Regions from separate parts of the Homo sapiens genome. Here regions 1 and 2 are each linked to region 3. Evidence: promoter capture Hi-C in human tissues and cell types (Jung and others, 2019). All regions are on one chromosome and are shown on one strand. The core of a region is centred on a gene start or on the middle of the fragment in contact, and the rest is flanking DNA. Distances in the headings are between cores, read along the strand shown. Region 1 has its middle 32 kb from the start of CYP2C18. Region 2 overlaps CYP2C18 (cytochrome P450 family 2 subfamily C member 18). Region 3 holds the start of CYP2C18 (cytochrome P450 family 2 subfamily C member 18).

Region 1 (4,741 bases), core at 462-2,961, 33 kb before region 3:
AGACTGAAGGATTGCTTGAGCCAGGCAGGTCAATGCTGCAGTGAGCTATGATGGTGTCACTGCACTTCAGCCTGGGTAACAGAGCAAGACCCTGTCTCAAAAAAATCTATCTGTACATGGACACTTAGAATGAGTCCATAACTTGGCTATTGTGAATAGTGCTAGTAAAGAACACTGGGTGCAGTTGTCTCTTCGGCATATTGATTTCAGCTCTTTTGGAGAAATACCCAGAAGTGGATACCCAGACTGCTGGATCATATGGTAATTCTGTTTTTAGTTTTTTGAGGAAGCTCCATACTGTTTTCCGTAATGGCTATACTAATTTACATTCCTACTAACAGTGTACAGGGTTCCTTTCCTCTATATCCTCCCCAATACTTGTTATCTCTTATCTTTTTGATAAAAACTATTATGACAGGTGTGAAGTATCTCATTGTAATTTTAATTGTATTTCCGTAATGATTAAGTTTGTTACACAGGTAAATGTGTGCTGTGGTTATTTGCAGCACAGATCAACCCATCACCCTGTTGTTAAGTACCCACTAGCTATTCTTCCAGATGCTCTCCCTCCTCCTTGTGCCCCCTCCCAACAGGCCTCACTGTGTGTTGTTCCCCTGCAATGTGTTCATGTGTTCTCATTGTTCAGCTTCCATTTATAAGTGAGAAATGTGGTGTTTGGTTTTCTGTTCTTGCATTAGTTTGCTGAGGATAACGGCTTCCAGCTCCATCCATGTCCCTGCAAAGGACATGATCTCATTCCTTTTTATGGTTGCATAGTATTCCATGGTGTATTTGTGCCACATTTTCCTTATCCAGCCTATCATTGATGGGCATTTGGGTTGATTCCATATCTTTGCTATTGTGAATAGTGATGCAATGAACATACATGTGCATGTATTTTTATAATAGAATGATTTATGTTCCTTTGGGTAAATACTCAGTACTGGGATTGCTGGGTCAAATGGTATTTCTGGCACTAGGTCTTTGAGGAATCACCACACTGTCTTCCACAGTGGTTGAACTAACTTATACTTCCACCAACAGTATAAAAGCATTCCTTTTCTCCACAATCTTGCCAGCAATTGTTGTTTCTTGACTTTTTAATAATCACCATTCTGACTGGAGTGAGATGGTGTCTCATTGTGGTTTTGATTTGTGTTTCTCTAATAATCAGGAATGTTGGACTTTTTTTCATATATTTGTTGGCCTCATGAATGTCTTCATTTGAGAAGTGTCTGTTCATGTCTTTTGCCGACTTTTTAATGGGTTTTTTTTTTTCTTGTAATTTTGTTTGAGTTCCATGTAGGCTCTGGATATCAGACCTTTGTCAGATGGTGTGATGGTTAATCACAATCCAATCAAGTTGACACTCCCTATTCTGATACTCAGACACAATCCAATCTTGACCGTATTGAAGGATGCAAAATATTGATCCTAGGTATGTCTATGAGGGTGTTGCCAAAGGAGATTAACATTTGGGTCAGTGGGCTGGGAAAGGCAGACCCACCCTTAATCCGGGTGGGCACCATCTAATAAGCTCTCAGTGAGGCCAGAATGTAAAGCAGGAAAAAAAATGTGAAAAGGCTTAGCCTCCTAGCCTACATCTTTCTCCTGTGCTGGATGCCTCCTGCCCTCGAACATTGAACTCCATGTTTTTCAGCTTTGAGACTTGGACTGGCTTCCTTGCTCCTCAGTTTGCAGATGGCCTATTGTGGGACCTTGTGATCGTGTGTGTTAATACTACTTAATAAACTCCATTTATATATATATTAGTTCTGTCCCTCTAGAGAGCCCTGACTGATACAGATTTTGGTACCAGGAGTGGTTCTAGATGAACAGAATATTAAGCATGGAGTTCTTTCATTGGTTTTGGGGTTTGTGGAGTTGACTGCTAATATGATTTGACCCAAAAATGCTAACGACTCTACTTCTAATAGTATGGAGAACACCGATAGTCCTTGGTGTGAACTGTTTAGAGGGTTATGCAAAATAGATGCATTTGACAGTCCTGATTCACTGCTTGTGAGATGCAAGGAGTTTAGTGACTCTATACATAATACTTTTGACTACATGTGGAGAACCAAGGAAGATAATGAAGTTGGTTGGTTGCTCCTAAGTTCACTGGATAAAGTGATGAAACAAAATGATGAACTCAGGGATTCTAACTCCCAGCTTCAGAAGTGGATACTGAGCCTCAAATCTGCTAAGATTGCCCTGAGTGGGAATCTTATCTCCTGTAGAGAAAGAGCTGAAATTGTGGGAAAAAAGACACAAGCTCTTATACAAGTGGCTAACCTGCAATGAAAGGTGAATGAACAGCCTTGCCAGGGGTTTACTGTTAAAGTGAGGGCATTGATTGGAAAAGAATGGGACCCTGCAATTTGGAATGGGGATGTGTGGGAGGACCCTGATGAAGCTGGGGACACTAAGCTTGTAAACTCTGATAAGTCTTTTTTGCCAGAAGAAACAGCTTCTGTTCCCAGTAGTGGCAACATCCGCTCTGTGACCCATGCTGCCATCAGCCTTTCCTCCTTTGTCTGAGTAGATAAACCCTGTGCTGTCTGAGGCAAGATAATGTTGATTCTCCTCAGTAGCCACCCCCAACACTCCTGTTTGCTTCAAGACCTATAACTAGACTAAAGTTCTGGTGGGCCCCTAGAAGTCAGGTTCAGAGTGTGGCCCATGAGGAGGTGTGTTACAATAGAAAAGAACTGCTTGACTTTTCAAATTTATATAAGCAGAAATCTGGAGAACAGTCATGGGAATGGATATTAAGGGTGTAGGATAATGGTGAAAGAAACATAGAGTTGGATCAGGCTGAATTTATTGATTTGGGCCCACTAAATAGAGATTCTGATTTTAATGTTGCAGCTCAGGAAGTTAAAAAAGGTTTTAATAGTTTACTTGCTTGGTTAGCTGAAACATGGATTAAAAGATGGCCCATTGTGAGCAAGCTGGACATGCCTGATCTTCCTTGCTTTAATGTAAAGGAAGGGATCCACAGGCTTAGGGAGATTGGGATGGTGGAGTGGATTAGTTACTTTAGACATACTCATCCCAGCTGGGAGGGTGCAGAAAATATACCCTTGACCAGTGCTTTGTGAAATAGATTTGTGAGGGCAGCACCTGCCTCTTTGAAGAGCCCTGTAATTGCTATTCTCTGTATGTCATATCTAACAGTGAGAATCACAGTCACTCAACTACAAAAGTTAAATACAATGGGAATAATTGGATTCTGAGGTGGCAGGGGCTAAGTTGTGGCACTCGAGCATCAAAGGCAAGGTGGGTGTAGTTACTGTAATGGACAGCAGAAGCAAAACAGCAATCAGAATAATCTGACTCATGTAGCACTCTGGCACTGGCTAATTAATCATGGTTCCTAGATGTGAAATTGATAGGAAGCCTTCTCCATTCCTGCTTAATTTATATAAGCAGAAAACTTCCAGGTCAAATGGACAAAAGACTAATTTGAATTATGAAACAGAGAATCATGGCGCCTCAATCAACTTCCAGACTTGAGCCAGTTTACAGACCCAGAACCCCTTGAATGAAGGGAAGCCTGGGTCTTCTTGAGGAAGGGCCCCACTTCACTATCAACAATTTATGCTATTGATCTTTCTCCCATCCTTCCCCAAGGAGACCTCCAGCCTTTTACTAGAGTAACTGTCCACTGGGGAAAGGGAAATGATCAGACATTTCAGGGACTACTGGACACTGGCTCTGAGTCGACATTGATTCCAGGGGACCCAAAATATCATTGTGGTCCTCCAGTTAAAGTAGGGGCTTATGGAGGTCAGGTAATTAGTGGAGTTTTAGCTCAGGTCTGACTTACAGTGGTTCCCTGGACTCATCCCATGGTCATTTCCCCAGTGCCAGAATGCATAATTGGCATAGACATACTTAGCAGCCTGCAGAACCCCCACATAGGCTCCCTGACTGGTAGGTTGAGGGCTATTATGGTGGGAAAGGCCAAATGGAAGCCATTAGAGCTGCCTCTACCTAGAAAAATAGTAAATAAAAACCAACATCACTTCCCTAGAGGGATTGCAGAGATCAGTGCCACCACCAAGGACCTGAAAGACCCAGTGGTGGTGATTCCTACCACGTCCCCATTCAACTCTCCTATTTGGCCTGTGCAGAAGACAGATGGATCTTAAAGAATGACAGTGGATTATCTTAAGCTTAGCCAAGTGGTGACTCTAATTGCATCTCCTGTACCAGATGTGGTTTCATTGCTTGAGCAAATTAACACATCTCGTGGTACCTTGTATGCAGCCATTGACTTGGCAAATGCTCTTTTCTCCCTTCCTGTTCATAAGGCCCACCAGAAGCAATTTGCCTTCAGCTGGCAAAGCCAGCAATATACCTTTACTGTCCTATCTCAGGGGTGTATCAACTCTCTGGCTTTGTGCCATAGTCTTATTAGAAGAGATCTTGATAGCTTTTTGCTTCCACAGATATCACACTGGTCCATTACATTGATGACATTATGTTAATTGGATCCAATGAGTAAGAAGTAGCAAACACACTGGACTTATTGGTGAGACATTTGTGTGCCAGAGGATGGGAAATAAATCTGACTAAAATTCAGGGATCTACTGCCTCTGTAAAATTTCAAGGGGTCCAGTGGTGTGCGGCCTATTGAGATATTCCTTCTAAAGTGAAGGGTGAGTTGCTGCATTTAGCCCCTCCTACAACCAAGAAAGAGACACAACGCCTAGTGGGCCTATTTGGATTTTGG
Region 2 (4,248 bases), core at 1,680-4,179, 41 kb after region 3:
CCCTAGTGGTGAAGTCTGGGCTTTCAGTGTACCCTTCACCTGAATAGTGTACATTGTTCCCAATAGGTAGCATTTCATCCCTCACCTCCCTCCCACCTTTCCACCTTTTGGACTCTCCAGTGTCTATTATTCCACTCTGTATGTCTCTGTGTACCCATTGTTTAGCTCCCATTTATAAGTGAGAACATGTGGTTTTTGACTTTCTATTTTGAGCATTTGCACTTAGGATAATGGCTTCTAGTTCCATCCATGTTGCCACAAAAGACACGATTTCGTTCTTTTACATGGCTGAGTAGTAGTGCATGGTGTGTGTGTGTGTGTGACACACCATAGAATACTAGATGCAGATTTTTAAATCCCACACATAACAATTTTAATCCATTCATCTGTTGATGGATGCTTGGGTTGATTTTATGAATTTGCCTTGGTGAATAGTGCTGCAGTAAACATATGAATGCAGATGTCTTTTCGATAAAATGATTTCTTTTATTTTGGATAGATACCCAGTAGTGGGATTGCTGGATCAAAGGGTAGTTCTATTTTTGATTCTTTGGGAAATACTATTTATTGAAGTGTATAGTGGATATTCTAGAAATGTCATGAGATAGCCTGAGAAAATCTGTATAGTCTGGGAAGTATTTTAAACACTTAGGTGTATAATAAAGGTGTATGATATTTAAGCAGAAAATGTGCCTGAGGAATTTTATGATTATCAAAATCTGCATCTAGAAAAATGGTACTTGTCAATATTTTTTCTTAGGGTCAATAGTTTTATCTTTTACAAGCAACTTTTTTTTTTCTTCAACTTTTATATTTATCTATGAGCAGATTCTGGCTCTGCATAACATATTAGCCACACACTTGTTTTTCTGGGGTCAGAATCACACTGAAGTGATGATAAACATATTACAAATGAGAATTACTCCTGTTAAAGTTGGAGTATAACCATCAAGTCTTTAACAAACTTCTCAGACACAGAGAGCAGATAGAAGGATGATAACCAATTTGGCAGAGAGATTGAAGTTGCAACCTAAGGGTCATAAGAATTTCTGTTGCTATAGTCCCCATAAGGCTGAGTATTCAAAAGAACCAAGACCCAAAGAACATAGAGGGAGAATGAGGCAGAAAACAGAAAATTCTCCCTGCCTAGTTTCCCTCCACAACTCCATTTGTCAACTAATTGTTTTTCTCCACAGAAAAGGGAGGTTCACTCTCTAGAGAAACTGAACCTAAGAGGCTCACTCATGGACAACAGACAGAGACTGGGAAAGAGTGAGGGGTTAAGTAAGAGTCCACTTGAATTCTAAGGCCTTTAGCGCCTTTTTCTATCTTGTTCCTAAAATACAGCAGCCAGGTGTAAACTCCAGAGGACAAGTAGCACCAGTGGAAAGACCTCCATTTTTCACCATTTAGATAGAAAATTCTTACCAAATGTCCAGCAAAGTGAATGAAATGGAAAATATTCATCCAAGACACCAGACCATGGGGAATTTTAGAACATCAGAGTTAAAGGGAAAGTCATAAAAACATTCAGAGATAAATTAGGTCACCTGTGAAGGATCAGGAATCAGAATGGCATTAGAATTCTCAAGAGCAGCTGTCATCTTGTGTATTTGTAGATAAAGAATATTTTCAGATCTGCATTTGGCAAAAAATTTTTGCCCTTTGTGTTTATTTTCTTAGAAAGATACTAGAGAATATTTTCCATCCAAATGTCTGAAACCAATTCAGGGGAAATCATGGGCTGCAGGGATCAGGAGATCTCATGTAGGAGGATGGAAGTGTCAGGGAGGCTGCTGGATACCAGGTCTAGAAAACAAATGCTTTAGAATGGACCAGGTGGATCATGGAGGTGTGAGGGAAGACATTAAGGGCAAAGAAAAGTTGATTGATTATTTGATTATTTTTAGTGTTTAGAAAATTATTAGTAAGAGTTTGAAACATTTCTGAGCATTTGCAGTAATTCTAAATTGGCATATGAAAATTAGAATTGAAATGGACACACAAGTCCAAGAATATACAAAAAAGAGACATAATTACAGCTGTCCCACTTGTGGTCAATGTTTATGAAATAATAATGGTGTGAACATGAGTATTAATATAATAAAAATGTGATATAAATACATTGGGGAAACTAGAGTGGGGGAAGTGTGAATGTGTGTGCATGTTTCTGTTTGTGGGTGTGTGTCTATTTGTTATGGGGTGATGATGGAGATATAAGTCCTCATCTTTCTTACCATGAGGTTTTAGAAATTTTCAAAGATAAATTAAAAAATAAAAAGAGAGTCAGTATTTAGAAATATGAATATAAACTTCAGAAGAAACTTCTAGAATGTTTCAACATAGTCACCTTTGTGGAGTGTGAGGATGAGAGAGAATATCATTTCAAGTTTCAAATAAACATATGCACACAATACACAAATCCATCCATACATATAGATCTGTTAGTAGAATTAAAGTTTTAAAACATTATATGTTATTCTGATACAACATTAATTTGATTTTTTTCTTTCTTCAAGAACAGTAATTTCTTGAGTTTATAATGTACTAAATATTTATATTTTGAAGTATTTTATCATTTATATTTGTACTGATTATCTTGTATGCTAATATGTAGGTGGTTACAGATTTATCTTAATACTTAGCTTGTAGGAGAGTTGGATGTATCTATAATGTAGTAATTTCTTCCCTAAGTCTAGGTGTACTTTCAGTCCTATAAGTTTATAATGATGTTGGGACCCCTTCCTTATGCTTCTTGTAACCTGAATTGCTACAACAAATGTGCCATTTTCCTCCTTTTCCATCATTTCTTACTTGTGTCTTATCAGCTAAAGTCCAGGAAGAGATTGAATGTGTAGTTGGCAGAAACCGGAGCCCCTGTATGCAGGACAGGAGTCACATGCCCTACACAGATGCTGTGGTGCACGAGATCCAGAGATACATTGACCTCCTCCCCACCAACCTGCCCCATGCAGTGACCTGTGATGTTAAATTCAAAAACTACCTCATCCCCAAGGTAAGCTTGTTTCTCCTACACTACATCTCCATGCTCTTCAAGTCCCCAAATTCATAGTATAGTCCCAATCCTCTAACAACACATGATGAGAGAAGTGTAAAATTCATACGTGGGGCAGCTTTCTGGACTCTGCTGTTTCCATTCCAGTTTGGGCCTATGAAGGTTTATAACAGGTCTCAGTATCTAGCAGTGTATGTCTTCCAAATTTGTTCTGCTTCTTTAGTATTTTTTTTTTGTGGCTATTCTCAGGTTGTTTACATTTCCAAGTAAGTGTTGAAAGTATCATTTTGTCAATTTCCCAAAACACTGTGCTGGGATTTTTATCATGATGACATTAAATCTTTAGATCAATTTAGAAATAATTGATGTCCTGACAGGTTGAATCTTTCAATTCATGGATATGATTATGCTCTTTATTTATTTGGGCTTTCTTCTATTGTGTCAGTAATGTTTTGTCTTCAGTTCAGTGGCTTTCTCATGTATTACGTTTTTTTTCTGAAATGATATTTCTATGTAATTGTAAGTTGTGTATTTAATATATAATATAAAATATATATAATATGAAATAAATATATATAATATTAAAAATATATTTTCAAAACAGAGTCTTGCTATGTTGCACAGATTGATCTTCTGGGCTCAAGCAATCCTCCACCTCTTCCTCCTGAGTAGCTGGGATTAGAGATGTGTGCCACTGCACCTGGCTTTTAAATAATATACTTTAAAAAAAATGCCTTTTCCATTTCTTTGTTTCTGGTACATGGAAATATAATTGACTTTATTATTTTGATGACCTTACATCAAGCAAATTTACTTGGCATTGCTAATTTTTTGTTTGTAAATTTATTTGTAATTTCTATGTATTCTGTGTTCTCTTTTAATATTTATTTTATTTCTTATTTTTCAATTCTTATAACTCAGTTTTCTCTTTATTGTTTTATTTCACTGGTTAGGATTTCCAGGACAGCGTTGAATAAATCATGATGGTGGGCATCCTTGTTTCATATATGATGTTCAGGATGGGTGGAGATTTAACATCTCACCAGTGAGAATGATGTTTTATGTATATTTTCATAAGTAAAAAATCAGATTAGAGAAGGTTGCCTTCTACTTTTGATGACTTTTTTTGGTCTTGAATGTGTATACAATTTGATCAAATGGAGTCTCTGCATCAATCGATATGGCCATATATTTTGTCCTGTCTATAGATATAATATATATATTAGTTAAAA
Region 3 (4,669 bases), core at 1,126-3,625:
TAGAAACAGAGAGTAGAATGGTGGTTACCAAAAGTGGGAGCCAGAGGAAATGGAAAAAAGTGTGTCAAAGAGCCAAATTTGTGGTTAGATAGGATGAATAAGTCTAAAGATCTAATAAACAGCAAGAGGACTATAGTTAATATACTATACTGAAAATTTGCTAAAAGAGTAGATTTTAGGTGCTTATACCACAAAAAAGAAGTTAATTATAGAATTGATTAATATGTAAATTTGTTTAACCATAGTAATGATTCCACTGTTTATATGTCTACCAATGTTGTATACCTTAAATATATACAATGGAAATAAACAAATAACTGTACTAGTCATTTAGAATACCACAATGACATCTTTACAGAATATGCCTTTGTACAAGCATTGCCATTAGTGATCTAGAAATGTATGTATCATTTTAGTGATATATAGAGCCTCATGAGCGCTAAATGTCATCTCCAGTTCAGGTCTGCACAACTGTGTTTGTTCTGTGCCATGGGTCTGTTTAATGATTTCCCTACCTCCCATTCACCACTGAAGCACATGCCTGTTGTTCTGCCTATAATTCCCCTTCCTTGCTGTGCAATATTTCATTCCATTATTTCTGACACAGACCAAAAAAGCAATAGAAACAGCAGTGTCTGGAGGCAAGTGGGAGCTGGAGAAGCCATAGTTTCTGAGATCTTACCCACTTAATTCTCTGAGATTGGCTCTTTCCTCAGTTATACTGAGTAGGTTTCAGCTCTTCAGTGACAGAGAGGGGAGAAACCCTAGCTTTTATTTCTTCTCTTGAGAATGTACAACCCTGTTATTTTGTGAACAGTGTGGTGTAGATTCAGAGTGAGAAATGTTTTTAGGATTTATTTTATTTTGCTAAAACTGTTCTCAAGGCAGCTCTGGTGTAAGTGAGAATATACCACAGCGGGCGTCAGAAGATCTCAGTTCAAATCCCAGCCTGCCATTTATGAGCTGTGGGACACTGGACAGGTCATCTGTTCTCCTAGAGTCTCCCTTTCCCCATTTGGAAAATATGAAATAATATTCTCAGCCGTCCAGTGTTTTTCACGGGGTTTAATGGAAAAAGGTGTGTATGTTTACTTAGTTAATTGATAACCGGTTTAGCCATTTAAGATGAATGAGTTTGTTAGCTGCTTTATGTTTAGGCAGCTGTAATGTTAGTACTACATTAAAATATTTCAAAAGGATCTCATTTTCAAGGAAAATGATCTAGTGTTTGAGAAAGCATTATAGTGTTGCAGTCTTGCAGATCCTTAGCTCAGCTAGGTCCGAGTTGTCTTATGCAGGAAGAATTAGGCACACAGACACTGGAGAGTGAGTGGAGTAGAATTTATTAAGTGAAAGGAAAACTCTCAGCAAAGAGAGAGGCCCTGAAAGCAGGTTGCAGATTGCCACTTCACAGTTGAATACCAGGACTTTTATAGAAAAGCTGATGAGGCTGGGATACTTATTTGCATAAGGCGTGAATTCCTGGTGTTTCCACCCCTTCCTTCCATTGCGCGTGTGGGCTCTTAGTCTAAGCCACTCCATATTGATTTATTTCCCTTCCTGCGCATGTGTTAAAGGTAGGAATTTTTCACTGTGGGCATATTTAGGCAAGCTCCCTGTGCAAGTTCCCTTATCTGCACAAAACATCTAGTGTAAGTACTTGGGGTTTTTGTGGATTGGGCAATGACCTGGAAGGGTTGGAGGTTCTCTGGGGACCCTTCCCTTACTGCCTGCCTAATGCAAGCTGGCTAACTCCTCTCAATAGGATAAACATTATTTTATGTACAAGGAATATAATACACAGATTGCCCTCAAAGTCATATTTCCAACTGCTCATCAATCTAAAAATCCAAAATTTTGAATAATTTTTTGATGAAATAATTTATTTCATTGTTTCTCAATTTTGGCTGCACAGTGGAACCACCTGGGCTGTTTGAAAAAACCTAGGCCTAGCCAGGCACGGTGGCTCATGCCTGTAATCCCAGCACTTAGGGAGACCAGCCTGGCCAACATGGTGAAACCCTGTCTCTGCTAAAAATACAAAATCACCTGGGCGTAGTTGTGCATTCCTGTAATCCCAGCCACGCCAGAAGCTGAGGCAGAATCGTTCGAATCCAGGAAGTGGAGGCTGCAGTGAGTTGAGATCTTGCCATTGCACTCCAGCCTGGGCAACAAGAGCGAAACTCCATCTCAAGGAAAAACAACAACAACAACAACAAAATCCTGGGCTCTGCTTCAGACTAGTTAAACCAGAATCTCCAGGGTGGGGCACCGGAAAGAACAAGAAAAAAGAACACCTTATTTTTATCTTCTTCAGTGAGCCAATGTTCATTCAAAAGAGAGATTAAAGTGCTTTTTGCTGACTAGTCACAGTCAGAGTCAGAATCACAGGTGGATTAGTAGGGAGTGTTATAAAAGCCTTGAAGTGAAAGCCCGCAGTTGTCTTACTAAGAAGAGAAGCCTTCAATGGATCCAGCTGTGGCTCTGGTGCTCTGTCTCTCCTGTTTGTTTCTCCTTTCACTCTGGAGGCAGAGCTCTGGAAGAGGGAGGCTCCCGTCTGGCCCCACTCCTCTCCCGATTATTGGAAATATCCTGCAGTTAGATGTTAAGGACATGAGCAAATCCTTAACCAATGTAAGTATGCTTTATGTTCCTCCAGTAATGTACAAGGTGTATTTAACCTCACAATTCTTAAAGTTTTATTTCATTTTAAAGTGATAAATGATAATTGTATATATTAATGGGGTACAATATTACATTTTGATACATGTATAGATTGTGAATTGATCATATCAGGGTAATTAGCATATCCATCATCTCAAATATTTGTCATTTCTTTGTAGTGAGAACATTTAAAATCCTCTTTTTTAGCTGTTTTGAAATATACAGTACATTAATATTAATTATAGTCACCTTGCTGTCCAATAGAACACCCGAGCTTATTCCTCCTATCTAAGTGTAACTCTGTACCTGTTGACCAACGTATCCCCTTATTTGGCCCATCTCCACCTGCCAGCCTCTGGTAGCCACCATTCTAATCTCTACTTCTCTGAGTTTAACTTTTTAAGATTCCACATAGAAGTGAGATCATATATGATATTTGCCTCTCTCTGCCTGGCTTATTTAATTAATATGATGTTCTGTAGATTCATCCATGCCGTCATAAATAAGAATATTTTTTCCTCTTTAAAAGGCTGAATAGCATTTCATTGTACATATATGTCACATACAAAATCCATTAATTTATTGATGAACACTTAGGTTGTTTCCATATCTTGGCTATTGTCAATAGCACTGCAATAAACATGGAAGTACAGACATGTCTTCCACATACTGACTTCAATTCCTTTGGGTATATACTGGTAGTGGGATTGCTGGATCATCTGATAGTTCTATTTTTGTTTTTTTTAGGAACATCCATACTGTTTTCTCAAATCACAATGCTAATTTACATACCCAAGGTTCACTTTATTCCACATCTTTGTCAACACTTGTTATCTTTTTATCTTTTTGATAATAATAATATCTTATCTATGAGTTGTGATGAGTTATCTCATTGTGGTTTTAATTTGCATTTCTCTGATGATTAAATTTGTTGAGTATTTAAAAAATATATCTTGGCCATTTGTATGTCTTTTTTTGAAAAATGTCTACTCAAATCCTTTGCCCATTTAATTAATTAATTAATTAATTAATTAATAGAGACAGGGTTTTGCTCTGTTGTAGGATGGAGTGTAGTGATGGGATCATGGTCCCTGCAGCCTTGAGCTCCTGGGCTCAAGCCATCCTTCTACCTTAGACCCCCAAGTAGCTGGGGCTACAGGTGTATGCCACCATGCCTGGATAATTTTTTAATGCTTTGTAGAGATGTGGTCTCATTATGTTGTCCAGGCTGGTCTTGAACTCTTGGGCTCAAGCAATCCACCCACCTTTGTCTCTCAAAGTGCTGGAATTACAGACATGAGCCATTGCACTTGACCCCTTTGCTCGTTTTAAATAGAATTATTTATTTGTTATTGAGTAATTTGAGTTTCTAAGTATTTTGGGTGGTCAGAATCTCATTTGTCTAGTTTTGCTTTCATGGCCTGTACTTTTAGGATCATATCCAAGAAATCATTGCCTAGACCAATGTCATGGAGTTTTTCTATATGGTTTCTTTCAGTAGTTTTTAGTTTCAGGTCTTATGCTTAAGGCTTTAATTCATTTTGAGTTAATTCTTGTATAAGGGTGAGATTAGGATTCTCTTTTATTCTTTGCATATGAATATCCAGTTTTCCCAACACCTTTTGCTGAAGAGTGCTTTCCCCATTGTATGTTCTTGGCACCTTTGTCAAAAATCAATTGATTATAGATGTGTGGGCTTATTTCAGGGTTCTCTACGCTTTTCCTTTAATCAGTGTGTCTATTTTTATGCTAATGCTATGCAGTTTTGCTTACTATAGCTTTGTAACATATTTTGCAGTTCAGTGGTGTGATGCCTCCAGCTTTATTCTTTTTGATTAATTTGCTTTAGTTATTTGGGGTCTTTTGTGGTTCCATACAAATTTTAAGATTTTTTTTCTATTTCTGTGAAGAATGAGATTAAAATTTTGATAGGGATTGCACTGAATCTGTATATTGCTTTGGGTAATATGGACATTTTTCCACTATTAGTTTTTCCAATCCATGA

The links. The method cuts DNA at HindIII sites, captures the fragments that hold promoters and counts their contacts. A contact is called where the count stands out against the background at its distance.
Region 1: a fragment that was not itself captured here is called in contact with the fragment with the promoter of CYP2C18 in region 3 in 2 of the 25 tissues and cell types used here (liver and spleen).
Region 2: a fragment that was not itself captured here is called in contact with the fragment with the promoter of CYP2C18 in region 3 in 3 of the 25 tissues and cell types used here (adrenal gland, liver and neural progenitor cells).

What each region holds. Positions count from the first base shown.
Region 1 is chr10:94,649,131-94,653,871 of GRCh38, forward strand. No RefSeq gene overlaps it. Among named protein-coding and RNA genes, the nearest start is that of CYP2C18, 32 kb to the right of the region's middle. The HindIII fragment of the contact is 3,187 bases long and covers 119-3,305 here.
Region 2 is chr10:94,721,518-94,725,765 of GRCh38, forward strand. It overlaps CYP2C18 (cytochrome P450 family 2 subfamily C member 18), which reads left to right. Exons shown (of 9, transcript NM_000772.3): 7 at 2,829-3,016. Among named protein-coding and RNA genes, the nearest start is that of CYP2C19, 39 kb to the right of the region's middle. The HindIII fragment of the contact is 3,726 bases long and covers 1,067-4,248 here.
Region 3 is chr10:94,681,354-94,686,022 of GRCh38, forward strand. CYP2C18 (cytochrome P450 family 2 subfamily C member 18) reads left to right here and starts at 2,376. Exons shown (of 9, transcript NM_000772.3): 1 at 2,376-2,634. The coding sequence starts at 2,467. The HindIII fragment of the contact is 11,159 bases long and covers 1-4,669 here.